5 separate regions of the Homo sapiens genome follow, and regions 1, 2, 3 and 4 are each linked to region 5. The links are contacts of gene promoters, found by promoter capture Hi-C in human tissues and cell types (Jung and others, 2019). All regions are on one chromosome and are shown on one strand. The core of a region is centred on a gene start or on the middle of the fragment in contact, and the rest is flanking DNA. Distances in the headings are between cores, read along the strand shown. Region 1 overlaps ZNF92 (zinc finger protein 92). Region 2 overlaps TMEM248 (transmembrane protein 248). Region 3 has its middle 16 kb from the start of RABGEF1. Region 4 overlaps KCTD7 (potassium channel tetramerization domain containing 7). Region 5 holds the start of CRCP (CGRP receptor component).

What was found. Contacts are between HindIII fragments. The study calls those that stand out against the background at their distance.
Region 1: a contact is called between a fragment that was not itself captured here and the fragment with the promoter of CRCP in region 5, in 1 of the 25 tissues and cell types used here (spleen).
Region 2: a contact is called between a fragment that was not itself captured here and the fragment with the promoter of CRCP in region 5, in 1 of the 25 tissues and cell types used here (spleen).
Region 3: a contact is called between a fragment that was not itself captured here and the fragment with the promoter of CRCP in region 5, in 1 of the 25 tissues and cell types used here (dorsolateral prefrontal cortex).
Region 4: a contact is called between a fragment that was not itself captured here and the fragment with the promoter of CRCP in region 5, in 1 of the 25 tissues and cell types used here (mesenchymal stem cells).

The regions. Positions count from the first base shown.
Region 1 is chr7:65,380,330-65,383,029 of GRCh38, reverse strand. All of the region lies in intron 1 of ZNF92 (zinc finger protein 92), which reads right to left. Among named protein-coding and RNA genes, the nearest start is that of ZNF92, 7.8 kb to the right of the region's middle. The HindIII fragment of the contact is 3,903 bases long and covers 1-2,700 here.
Region 2 is chr7:66,945,636-66,948,335 of GRCh38, reverse strand. The region is part of intron 3 of TMEM248 (transmembrane protein 248); the gene reads right to left. Among named protein-coding and RNA genes, the nearest start is that of TMEM248, 26 kb to the right of the region's middle. The HindIII fragment of the contact is 3,961 bases long and covers 1-2,700 here.
Region 3 is chr7:66,723,544-66,726,243 of GRCh38, reverse strand. It overlaps a transcript of RABGEF1 not described here. Among named protein-coding and RNA genes, the nearest start is that of RABGEF1, 16 kb to the left of the region's middle. The HindIII fragment of the contact is 3,653 bases long and covers 1-2,700 here.
Region 4 is chr7:66,642,845-66,645,544 of GRCh38, reverse strand. KCTD7 (potassium channel tetramerization domain containing 7) reads right to left here. Exons shown (of 4, transcript NM_153033.5): 4 at 2,498-2,700. Among named protein-coding and RNA genes, the nearest start is that of KCTD7, 15 kb to the right of the region's middle. The HindIII fragment of the contact is 3,952 bases long and covers 1-2,700 here.
Region 5 is chr7:66,113,555-66,116,254 of GRCh38, reverse strand. CRCP (CGRP receptor component) reads right to left here and starts at 1,408. Exons shown (of 6, transcript NM_014478.5): 1 at 1,285-1,408. The coding sequence starts at 1,292. RefSeq lists silencers at 619-913, 2,342-2,532 and enhancers at 500-1,028, 1,566-1,695. The HindIII fragment of the contact is 12,363 bases long and covers 1-2,700 here.

The DNA.
Region 1 (2,700 bases), core at 4-2,503, 730 kb after region 5:
TTCTAAGCTGTATAGGGTGTGGGTTATAGTGTTCAGCGTAGCATTATTAGTTTAATTTATAGCTACTCGTGGCAATAGCAAGCAGTTTCAAGAGATAAATACATAGCTCAAAGGAGAGAGAAAGACACAATTGTGGTCTCGTTTTAATGTCTCTTTGAGCCTTATAACTAAAAGGATTTGCATTTCTCAGATAAAAGGTTTACTGCAAGACCCAGATTCAGAATGTGGAGCCGCTAGTTTAGGTCCTGGATGGGTAGAATAGCAGTAAGTGTTACCTGCACATTTGTGGGCATTTTAAAAAGAGAAGGAAGGGGAAAGTGGAGATTCTCATGCCTACATGTCTACTCAATGCATGCATGTTACTCTAACGGGCCCCACAGTCTCTGAATCAGTTTCAGGTCTAAAGATACAAGAGTCATTGAAAGAGGTAAAATGGTTAATTGCTGTTCTGTGAAGTATTTAGAAATTTGGTCTAGCCTCTCTAGATGTGATTATACAGGACTAGATACCAAATAGGCAGAGGCACGATTCTGCCTGCATATTCAGGGGACAGCATGCATTTTGCAGCACAATCATGAGTTGACTGGAAGCCTGAGACAAAAAGGCCCATCTAGATTAAAGCTTGGTTGGCACCTTATATGTTTATATCATGTGTGGTAAGTTTAAACAGTGTTTGGAAAATATAATTAAAAGGAAAGTTTTCTCCAGCCCCAGAGTAACTCCACAATGATAAAACAGAAAGAAAACTGTTTTATTACACAATTACACCAGAATGTGACACGCATCACAATCTGCTTAAGAGACTGCAAAGACAGAAAGACGGTCACAATAATTAGTCCATAAGTAGAAGAATTTACAGTACCATGTTATACATAGTTCATCCTAAATTCACCTGGCAACTGGGGAGGCCATCCGTGTAAGCTAATTGGCTATATTCAATGACAAAATAAACTTTTCACATCTTCGTGACAGGAGGTAGTTTTGCAATTTGAAGCCAGGTGCCTGCTGAAGGTAGGCTCTCACTCTCCTATAGAAATGGTTGAATATAGTGCTCTCTTTTTGGCTATTTGCATTTTAAAGCAATAGCTCTCTACTCTGAGCACTACCACAGCAACATGATACCAGTACAAAAACAGGCTCAGAGACCAATGCAACAGAATAGAGAGCCCAGAAATAATGTGGCACACCTACAATCATCGTATTTTTGACAAAGCTGACAAGAGAAATGTAGGAGAGATTCCCTGTTTAATAAATGGTGTTGTAATAAATAGCTAGCACTATGTAAAAGATTAAAACTGGACTCCCTGCTTACACTATATCCAAAAATAAACACAAGATAAATTAAGGACTTAAATGTAAAACTTAAAATTATAAAATGCCCTGGAAGATAACCTAGGAAATACAATTCCAGACATAGAAACTGCCAACGATATTATGATGAAGATACCAAAAGCAATCGCCACAAAAGCAAAAATCGATAAATGGGACCAAATTAAACTAAAGAGCATCTTCACAGAAAACAAAAACAAAACCCACAAGAAACTATCAACAGAGTAAACAGACAACCTAGAGAATAAAGAAAAATATTTGCAAACTATGCTTCTGACAAAGGTCTAATATCCAGAATCCATAAGGAACTTAAGCAAGTTTACAAGAAAAAAAAAACCTTATTAAAAAGTAGGCAAAGGACATAAACACACGCTTTTCAAGAGAAAGCAGGTGGGTGTGGTGCCTCACACCTGTAATCCTAGCACTCTGGGAGGCCAAGGTGGGTGGATCACAAGGTCAAGAGTTCGAGACCAGCCTGGCCAATATGGTGAAACCCCCGTCTCTACTAAAAAAAATACAAAAATTAGTCAGGCATGGTGGGGCGTGCCTGTAATCCCAGCTACTTGGGAGGCTGAGGGAGAATTGCTTGAACCCAGGAGATGGAGGTTGCAGTGAGCCGAGATCGTGCCACTGCACTCCAGCCTGGATAACAGAGCGAGACTCCATCTCCAAAAAGAAAAGAAAAAAAAGAGAAAGCATACATGTGGCTAACAAGCATATTAAAAAAGTGCTCATCACTAATCATTAGAGAGATGCAAACAAACAAACAAAAAAAACACCACAATGAGATACCATCTCACACCAGTAAGAATGGCAATTACCAAAAAAGTCAAAAAAATAATAGATGTGCTGGCAAAGTTGCAGGGTAAAGAGAATGCTTATACTCTGCTGGTGGGAGTGTAAATTAGTTCAACCATTGTGAAAAGCAGTGTGACAATTCCTCACAAAACTAAAAACAGAATTACCATTTGACCCACCTCCTAATTAGGTATATACCCAAAGAATACAAATTATTCTATCATAAAGACCCATGCACATGCATCTTCATTGCAGCACTAGTGACAGTACCAAAGACATGGAATTAACCTAAATACCCTCAATGGTAGGCTAGATAAAGAAAATACATTGTGGTTGAGCATAGTGGTTCACGCCTGTAATCCCAGCACTTTGGCAGGGTGAGGCAGGTGGATTGCGTGAGCTCAGGAGTTGGCGACCAGCCTGGGAAACATGGCAAAACTCTGTCTGTACAAAAAATACAAAAAGAAAAATTAGCCAGGCGTGGTCGTGCACGCTGTAGTCCCAGCTACTTGGGGGGCTTAGGTAGGAGGATTGCTTGAGCCCAGGAGATTGAGATTGAGGCTGCAGTGAGCC
Region 2 (2,700 bases), core at 154-2,653, 830 kb before region 5:
CACTTTCCAGTACATGGCCTGGAGATGCCAAACCAGACCTCGGGCAGATCAGAGATGAAAAGCTCGGGCTGGGTGAATTATCCCCAGCATTTCTGCACAGCTGTCTAGCCATTTTCAAACATCTTTTATATGTATTATTTCACTTAAAATTTACTACTCTCCCATGAACATGACTGAAGAAGTGCAGCTGTTCCCCTTTTACATATGAACAAACAGAGGTCAGAGGGTTTCAGAGTTAAGAAAGGCAAGTGATGAAGCTTAAACTAAAACCAACGTATTGCCAGGCACAGTGGTTCACATCTGTAGTCCCAGCACTTTGACTTTAGAAGGCTGAGGCAGGAGGATTGCTTGAGGCCGGGAATTCACGACCAGCCTGAACATGACAGCAAGATTCTGTCTCTACAAAAAAGTTTTAAAAATCAGCCAGGTGTACTGGTGCACACCTGTGGTCCCAGGTACTAGGGAGGATCACTTGAGCCCAGGAGTTTGAGGCTGCAGTGAGCTATGATCACACCACTGCACTCTAGCCTGGCGACAGATCAAGACCCAGTCTCAAAATTAAAATAAAATTTTAAATAAAAATTAAATTAAAATAAAAAATTAAAATATTAAAATAAAATTAAAATTAAAAAATAGCCAAGCGTGGTGGCTCATGCCTGTAATCCCAGCACTTTGGGAGGCTGAGGCGGGCGGATCATTTGAAGTCAGAAGTTCAAGACCAGCCTGGCCAACATGGTAAAATCCTGTCTCCACTAAAAATACAAAATTAGCTGGGCATGGTGTCACGAACCTATAATCCCAGCTACGCGGGAGTCTGAGGCAGAACAGTCGCTTGAACCCGGGAGACAGAGGTTGCAGTGAGCCAAGATTGTGCCACTGCACTCCAACCTGGGCGACAGAGTGAGACTCCATCTCAAAATAACAACAAAAAATCCCGAAGGTGTCCTTATGCCATGCCATAAGCAACAGGTCCACTTGCTACATGGAAAACCCAGAAGTCACCCATACCTTGATTATTATGGGAATATTCTCACCTCTAACAGCCAATAGGAGGCTGGTGGGCACTTAAATTCCTTGAAGGACTTTTTATTTGTTTCTTGTTTTTTTTTTTTTTTTTTTTTGAGACAGGGTCTCACTCTATTGCCCAGGCTGGAGTACAGTGGTACAATCTTAGCTCACTGTAGCCTCGACCTCCCAGGTTCAAGCAATCCTCCCACCTCAGCCTCACAAGTAGCTGGGACTACAGGTGCACGCCACAACACCTGGTTAATTTTTTTAATTTTTTCATAAAGACAGGTGTTTGCTATGTGCCCAGGCTGGGCTTCAACACCTGAGCTCAAGCAATCTTCCTGCCTCAGCCTCTCAATGTGCTGGGATTACAGGCATGAGCCACTGCATCTAGCCTAAGCAATTTTTAAAAAGCCTTTTGGTAACCAAAGAACAAAAGGTTATTCTTCCAAGGCCCAGGTGTCCCATATGAAGCCTTTCCTGATTATTCCAGCTTCCACTGCCTTCTAGCCCTTCTCCTGCAACACTTACAGTCTGTCATGGGTTTAGTACTGGTCAAAGGGCAGTGCTCCACATTTTATAAGTATGTATTTTTTCATATCCCTTATCAAGCACTTACGTAGCATTTCCTTTGTGGCAGGAACTATTGTAAGTGCTTGATAAACATTAACTCACGTTTATCTTTGTCTCTTCCATAACCCCAAAATTCCAAAAGGAAGAGACCAAATGTTAGGCCTTTTTTTTTTTTGAGGTGAAGTCTCACTCTGTTGCCTAGACTGGAGTGCAGTGGCATGATCTTGGCTCACTGCAGCCTCCGCCTCCAGGGTTCAAGTGATTCTCCCACCTCAGCCTCCAGAGTGGCTGGGATCACGGGCGCCTGCCACCACGCCTGGCTAATTTTTTTGCATTTTTAGTAGAGATGGGGTTTCACCATGTTGGCCAGACTGGTCTTGAACTCCTGACCTCAAGTGATCCACCCACCTCGGCCTCCCAAAGTGCTGGGATTACAGGCGTGAGCCACTGCGCACGGGCCCATCTTAGGCATTGTCTTTTCTTTTCTTTTTTTGAGATGGAGTCTCGCTCTGTCGCCCAGGCTGGAGTGCAGTGGTGCAATCTCGGCTCACCGCAACCTCCACGTCTTGGGTTCAAACAATTCTCCTGCCTCAGCCTCCTGAGTAGCTGGGACTACAAGTGCGCACCACCATGCCTGCATGCCCAGCTGACTTCTTTTTTTTTTTTTTTGGAGAGAGAGTCTCCCTCTGTCGCCCAGGCTGGAGCACAGTGGCATGAATCTCAGCTCACTGCAACCTCTGCCTCCTGGGTTCAAGCTATTCTCCTGCCTCAGCCACCCGAGTAGCTGGGACTACAGGTGCCTGCCACCACGCCCGGCTAATTTTTGTATTTTTAGTAGAGACGGGGTTTTGCCATATTGGCCAGGCTGGTCTCAAACTCTTGACCTTGTGATCTGCCCACCTTGGCCTCCCAAAGTGCTCGGATTACAGGCGTGAGCCACCGCGCCCGGCCAATTTTTTGTATTTTAGTAGTGATGGGGTTTCACCATGTTGCCCACGCTGGTCTCAAACTCCCGAGCTCAGGCAATCCACCCACCTCGGCCTCCCAAAGTGCTGGGATTACATGCATGAGCTACTGCACCCAGCCATCTTAGTCATTTTCTAGTTCTTCCCAGCAGCT
Region 3 (2,700 bases), core at 23-2,522, 610 kb before region 5:
CCACCCAGCAGATATGAATAAGCACCCACTGACTAGGCACTCTCATAGTCATTTGATGGCTCTGGGTCCCAGCTGTGGGCAAAGCCCAGGCTGGGTGCTTTGGGATTCTGGCTCTGTGCCTGGCATCCCTTCTGGCCCTGTCTGAGTAGCAGCTTCCTGCAGACAGATGTGGCCTTGTGCCCTGTGCTGGCAGGTCCTCCCGAGAGCTGAAGGTGCCTTAGGACCCAGGCCCATGGCTGCTGACCTCCACTGATCAAGGGAGGCCTGATGAATGGGGGTTTTCTAAGTGGGATCACATCTCTCCTCAGGTCACAGTGCCCAAGAAAGGGTCACAGCTTCCCCCTCTGATTGGGTCTTCACATGGAAGGGTCCACGTCCCCCTCAGATTAGACTTTCCAAAGCATGGGTGTAACTCCCTCATCAGACTTACTTTTCGGGGGAGCTCCTTGTGTCTTCCCTCAGACCTTTTGCAAAGCATGCCTATGTTTCTCCCCTTAGGGTAAGGCCATGTCCTCTCTGTCATACCAGCTTCCTAGGAGTTCCACCCACAGTGTGGCCTTCTATCCGAGCTGCACTTTCCTCATCCATAAAGTTGGGGGAGTCATATCTGCCTCATAAAATTGCCATGGATGGAACAAAAACAGCATAACATCACAATATTCACGAACTCATCAAAACTCACTATAGCCATACTATGTAATGTTATTGGCAATAAAAAGAAACAAGAACTGATACATGCCACAACATGGATGGACTCTGAACACATGATGCTAAGTCACAAAGAATCACAGATTGCATTATTCCAGTTATATGAATAGACAAATCTATAAAGACAAAAAGTAGATGGGTGGTGGCCTAGGGCTGAGGGTGGGGCAGAATGGAGGGACTGTGGGACAAGGGCTAAGGGGAGTGAAGCTTCTTTTAGGGATAAGGAAAATATTGTAAAATTGATTATGATGATGGATGTACAATTCTCTGAATATACTAAAGGTCATTAAAGTGTACATGTTAAATTAGTGAATTGTATGGTAAAGTAAAGTGTATCTTGATAAAGCTGTAAAAGGATGTACAGACATGTAAGGAAGTGGGAAAATATGACCTGTAATTAAAAAAATAATAATCGAAACAGACCCAGAAGTGACAAAGATGATCAAATTAGTTTCCAAGATTTTAAATCGGCTATAGAAATATGTTCAAGATTTTAAAGGGAAAACAAATATAATAAGGAGAGAAATAGAAGATTTAAAAGAGAACCAATGGAACTTCTAGAGCTGAAAACATAATGTCTAAGATAAAAAACATATGGGATGAGCTTAACAGCAGATTTGGCACTACAAAGACAAGATCAATGAACCTGAATCTATCTAAACTAAAGCACCAAGGGAAAAAAGCAAGCCAAAAAAAATTTTAACAGAGCCTTGGTGACCTATAGGACAATATTAATCCATCCAACACACATATAATTGGAGTACCAGAGGCAGAAGAAATAATTGCTGAATTTTTTTCAAACTATAAATTTGATGAAAACCATGAACCCAAAGATCCAAGAAACTCAAAGAGCTCCAAGAAGAATAAATATTGATTCAGGCCAGGTGCAGTGGCTCACGCCTATAATCCCAGCACTTTGGGAGGCCGAGGTGGGTGGATCACAAGGTCACGAGATCAAGACCAGCCTGACCAACATGGTGAAACCCTGTCTCTACTAAAAATACAAAAATTAGCTGGGCGCAGTGGCATGCGCCTGTAATCTCAGCTACTCGGGAGGCTGAGGCAGGAGAATTGCTTGAACCTGGGAAGCGGTGGGTGCAGTGAGCCGAGATCGCGCCACTGCACTCCAACCTGGTGACAGAGCGAGACTCCGTCTCAAAAAAAAAAAATAAAATAAATAAATACTGATTCAAAGAAAACCACACCAAAACATATCACAATCAAGTTGCTGAATACCAAAAATAAAGAGAAAAATCTTAAAAGCAGCCAGAGAAGGAAATAACACATTATGTAGAAGGAACAAAGATAAGAATTACTGCTGACTTATTATCAGAAACAATGAAAGCTAGAGGACAATAACATGACATCTTTAGAGTGCTGGGGGGAAAAAGCTGTTAACCTATAATTCTTTATTCAATTAAAATAGCCTCTCTCAAACGAAGACAAAAAAAAAATTTCTTAAGAAACAAATGGTGAGAAAATTTATTGCCCAACAGAAACTGCAACACAAAAATTTATAAAATTAAAATTTCAGGCTAAAGGAAAAAGATAAACATAAACATGAAATACAAGACAATGAAAAGCACTAAAAATGGCAAATATGTGGATTAATGTAACAGATATTTTCTCTTATTTTCATTTCTTTAAAAGATAATTGGCCAGGCATGGTGGCTCACACCTGTAATCCCAGCACTTTGGGAGGCTAAGGTGGGCAGATCACCTGAGGTCAGGAGTTCGAGACCAGCCTGACCAACATGGTGAAACCCCGTCACTACTAAAAATACAAAAGTGGCCAGGCGTGGTGTCACAGCCCTGTAATCCCAGCTACTCAGGAGGCTGAGGCAGGAGAATCACTTGAACCCAGGAGGCAGAGGTTGTGGTGAGCCAAGATCACACCACTACACTCAAGCCTGGGCAACAAGAGTGAGACTCCGTCTCAAAAAAAAACAAAAACAAAAACAAAAAAAACAGTAATTGTTTAAAGAAAAAATA
Region 4 (2,700 bases), core at 32-2,531, 530 kb before region 5:
AGGCGGGTACATCACCTGAGGTCAGGAGTTTGAGACCAGTCTGGCCAATATGGTGAAACCCCATCTCTACTAAAAATACAAAAATTAGCCAGGCTTGGTGGCGCGTCTGTAATCCCAGCTACTTGGGAGGCTGACGAAGGAGGATTGCTTGAACCCAGCTGGTGGAGGATGTAGTGAGCTGAGATTGCACCACTACACTGCAGCCTGGGCAACAGAGCAAGACTGTCTCAAAAAAAAAAAAAAGAAAGAAAGAAAGAAAGTTTAAAATTATGTTTAAAAAACAGAGAAATTAAGCTAAAGTACATGATAGGAAAAACAATGTGGTAAGGAATTAAAAGAAAGCTAAAGGTAAGTAAATAAAAGCTAAGGGAACAGGCTATAAGTTCAACAAACCAAAATTAAGTAGTGAAGAGGTCATCTACACAAGAATGAAGACGGGACACTTGGCAGTATAGAGATCTAAGTCCAAGGGCCATGAGTCCCAAGCCAGGCACATGGCATCCCCTGAACTACACTAAGGAGTCTCCCATTCTGTTATGCTTTTGATGTTGGAAGTAGGCTATCCAGCTTGTCTATGCAGGGATACCTGCAAGGCTTCAGGAGTGTCATTAACTCAGGTGGTTCCAGATCATCCCACCCTTGGGGTCTAGCCAAGGAGCCATGACTCACCTACTCTGTCATACTCCATACATCATCCTGTGAACAGGGCCTCCTTCACCTAGCGGATATGTGTCCCTCACTAAGAAGGTCAGTAAATCGGGAGCCCCATCTACCCCCTTAACACAGGGGCTACATAAGGACTACACATTTGATATGGTTTGGCTCTGTGTCCCCACCCAAATCTCATGTTGAACTGTAATCCCCACTTGTCAGGGGAGGGACCTGGAGGGAGGTGATTGGATCATGGAGGTAGATTTCCCCTATGCTGTTCTTGTGATAGTGAGTTTTCACGAGCTCTGATGGTTTAAAAGTGTAGCATTTCCCCACTCTTTTTTTATTTTTGTGGGATGGAGTCTCACTCTGTTTCCAGGCTGGAGTGCAGTGGCATGATCTCGGCTTATTGCAACCTCTGCCTCCTGAGTTCAAGTGATTCTCCTGCCTCAGCCTCCCGAGTAGCTGGGACTACAGGTGCACGCCACCATGCCCAGCTAATTTTTTTGTATTTTGTTTTTTAATAGAGATGGGGTTTCACCATGTTGGCCAGGATGGTCTCAATCTCTTGACCTCGTGATCTGCCTGCCTCGGCCTCCCAAAGTGCTGGGATTATACAGGCATGAGCCACCATGCCTGGCCTCCCCATTCTCTCTCTCTCCTGCCTCCATATAAGATGTGCCTTGCTTCTGAACTTCGCCTTCTGCCATGATTATAAGTTTCCTGAGGCCTCCCAGGGATGTGAACTGTGGGTCAATTAAACCTCTTTTCTTTATAAATTAACCGGTCTCAGGTAGTTCTTTACAGCAGTGTGAAAATGGACTAATACAACATCTATGGGAGATTTTTTTTTTCCTTTTTTCCTAAAATCCTTTCCTGAAGTATGAAGACTTTCTAATACTTGTCCTAGATATGTGCTTTCAAATCTTCACAGGTCAGGTAGAGTGAAGCCCTAAACCTCAGGAGGAGGATACGAGCTGTCAAGAGGAAGGGAGGATCATGCTGTTGAACACCTCTGAGGATTTCAGAAAGGGGCTCTGGGTTTGAATCCTGACTCTTCCACTTACTAGCTCTGCACTCTTGGGGAAACTACATACTTCTATGAGCTTCAGTTTCCAGCCTGTATTATTAGTGTACTATAACTATGTGACTGTACTCAGTAATTAGTCAGGGAATACATTTGGCACAGATGATACAGTGCTTTTGTTTAAAAGCCAGAATAATCAGAGGTTTAAGGGAAGCAGTTGGAGGGTATGAAGCTACTCAGAGCCTCAGAACTCACCTTTCTGCGTTAATCCATGATGTGACTCCAGGGGGCATCTTGATGAGGACACTCATTAGCCAGGAAGGTGTCAAGCTCTGCTTTCAAAGGAAGGGCAACTTACGTCCATTTTTCTTAAGGAAGGGTCTTAACCACTGAGGCTTACATAAATTTAGAGCTACTTATTTCCCCCATTGAAAAGGAAGTGGTAATATGACAGGAGGAATTTATTTTAGAACTACCTGACATGGTTGTGAGCCACACACGTGACTGCACCTGCAGTCTCTTCTTTCCTTGGAGAACTCCCAAAAGAAGAGGACAGAGATTTTGCCTAGGCTGGGGTGGGCACATGCCTACATGAAACAGGGACAAGTCTAGAGTAACTCTAGAAGGGTCCTCAAGAGGCCCACCTCCCTTTCAGGGCAGAAATTCAGCTGCTGGTCTCAGGGAAAAGCCTGTCTTGTTGTGTGGGGCATCCCCAAACACACCACATTTTAAGCAGAAATAAAAAATATTTGCTGGCAAAGTGGGGGTCAGAGAAGAGATGAGAGCACATCTCTAAAAAAGAAAGGCACAGCACCCAGGTTCTAGTTCTTGACTTTAATGCCCTTGGAGTGTACTGAGGCTCAATACACCAAAGCACTCACAGACAGGTACATGAACTCACACAGGAAGTGTTATAGTGTGTACATAAACCCAACACCATACAGAAGGAAGACGACGGACCCAGGTGACCTCCCACACTCGAGGTGACTGCCTGTTCCCATACTCACTGTTTGTTCCCACCT
Region 5 (2,700 bases), core at 159-2,658:
CCAAAGTGCTGGGATTGCTGGTGTGAGCCACCACGGTTGGCCCCATTCATATTAATAAAAAATAGACAATATGAGAGTGTACGCCACACATTATTGTTTCATGAGCCTTTCATTTCAGTTACACAGACATATTGTGTTTAAAAAAAAATCGGAAGAGGCCAGGTGAAGTGGCTCACGCCTGCAATCCCAGGACTTTGGGAGTACAAAGCAGGAGGATCACTTGAGCTCAGGAGCTGGAGACCAGCCTGGGCTGTAGTGAGACCCTGCATCTACAAAACTTTTTTTAAAAAATTAGCGGTGAGTGATGGCGTGGGCCTGTAGTCCCAGCTACTGAAGAGGCTGAAGCAGGATTGCTTGAGTCCAGAAAGTGAGGCTGCAGTGAACCATGATTACACCCCGCCTGGGGGACAGAGCAAGACCCTGTTTCTTAAGAAAAAACAATTAATTAAAAATGTAAAAATGTGAAATGCCATAGTACATATAACCATTAAACATGAGGCAAAAGAACATAAAGGAAACTGTATCAAATAATCAGTTCAAAGAGAACACAAGATAGTAATACCTACAAATTAATATCAACCGTATAAAGCCCACATTCAGAGTAGATGCAAAATCTTCCATTTGCACCAGGCGCAACGAGCAAGCATGGAAAAGACCACGTGGAGTTAAACTGTCAGAAAATCTTTTACCCTCGCCTTGCACACACACCCACACACCCCCTGCTGTTTCTCTGGTCCCAGTCCTGGTTCACGTCCTTCCCTTCTCCACCCCAAAACCAGCCCCTTCCCTCACAGTGTTTACTGCTCCCATCAAATTCCGAGGGCAGCTCTTCCGAGGGCTCTCCAGGGGCCTACAGCTGCAAGCAGAGCTCTACCCGGCCCTGATTCGTCTCTCCTCCACCTACTTTCAGGGCGGACAGACTCAGGCCTTTATAGCCTTCTAAGTCCGGGGTCGGATACCAGACTGGGCTCCACCCCCGCACTGTGACCCAGAAACGCTGGTAAACGAATGAGAGAAGGAGGGGGCACATTGAAAGGCAGCCGGACACGGAAGTGCTCGGCCCCGCACCAGACACGGCGTGGAGGGGAAGCGAAGGTTCGGAAGGGCAAAGCGAGAGTCCCGTTCGTCCCCGTCACCACCCCGCGGCCCTCCCGGACAGGGCCGGCCCGCTGCCCTCACTCCCGTACGAGGGTCGCCCAGTCCCCACGGCTCTCGGCTCTCAGCTCTCAGCGGTCAAACCGTTGGGCTCCTCGGGCGAAAAGGGACGCGCCCGAGAAGACTTACACTTCCATGACGTCCCGCCTCGTCGCCCCTAGCTGCCAGCAGACAAAGAACCTCACACTTCACAGCTGTCTCCGCCGCCACCAACAGCGCCAAGGTGCCAGCTCCGCGCGCCAAGGTGCTCGCCGGGATCGCCGCGCTGCATGCCGGGAGCTTGGCGGACCCGGAACCTCGCGCTGCGCGTTCCCCTTTTTCGGGGGGCAGGGTGGGGGAGTGTCCCTGCATCCTTCCACCAGGCCGATTTAAGACTGCTAAGCGTTTGCGGACAGGATTATCTTGTGTTTTCTTTTCTTTTTTTCTTTAACCTTTTTTTTTTTTTGAGACGGAGTCTCGCTCTGTCGCCCAGGCTGGATCTCGGCTTACTGCAACCTCCGCCTCCTGGGTTCAAGCGATTCTCCTTCTGCCTCAGCCTCCCAAGTAGCTGGGACTACAGGCGCTTGCCACCAAGCCCGGCTAATTTTTTGTGTTTTTAGTAGAGACGGGGTTTCACCGTGTTAGCCAGGATGGTTTCAATCTCCTGACCTCGTGATCCGCCCGCCTCGGCCTCCCAAAGTCCTGGGATTACAGGCGTGAGGCACCGTGCCCAGCCTCTTTTTTTCTTTTTTGAGACAGAGTCTCGCTCTGTCACCCAGGCTGGAGTGCAGTGGCACGATCTCGGCTCACTGCAATCTCTGCCTCCCAGGTTCAAGCAATTCCCTGCCTCAGCCTCCCGAGTAGCTGGGATTACAGGCGCCCGCCATAACGCCTAGCTAATTTGTGTATTTTTTAGTAGAGACGGGGTTTCATCATCTTGGCCAGGCTAGTCTTGAACTCCTGACCTCGTGATCCACCCGCTTCGGCCTCCCAAAGTGTTGGGATTACAGGCGTGAGCCACCTCGCCGGGCTCTGTCTGTTTTCGTGGTCTAGGTTTTAACAAAGTATTAATCAGCTGAAGTTGTGAGACGTGATCGGGTTAGTGGGCCTTTGCATGTTAAAATCCCACCTCTCAGAGAGTAGTGAGGCTGGTGGCATCTGGGCTGCCAGAAACATTGCAGTTTATTTATTTATTTTTTAAGAGACAGGGTCTTGCTCTGTCGCCCAGGCTGGAATGCAGTGGTGCAATCAGAGCTCACTGCAGCCTTGAACTCCTGGGCTCAAGCAATCCTCCCACCCCAGCCTGCCAGAGTAGCTGGGACCACAGGTGCGCTCCGCTACACCTGGCTAATTTTCTTTTTTTCTTTTTCTTTTTCTTTTTTTTTTTTTTTGAGATCAGTCTCACTCTGTTGCCCAGGCTGGAGTGCAGTGTCGTGATCTCGGCTCATTGCAACCTCTGCCTCCTGGATTCAAGCAGTTCCCTGCCTCAGCCTCCCCAGTAGCTAGGATTACAGGTGCCCGCCATAATGCCCAGCTAATTTTTGTATTTTTTTAGTAGAGACGGGG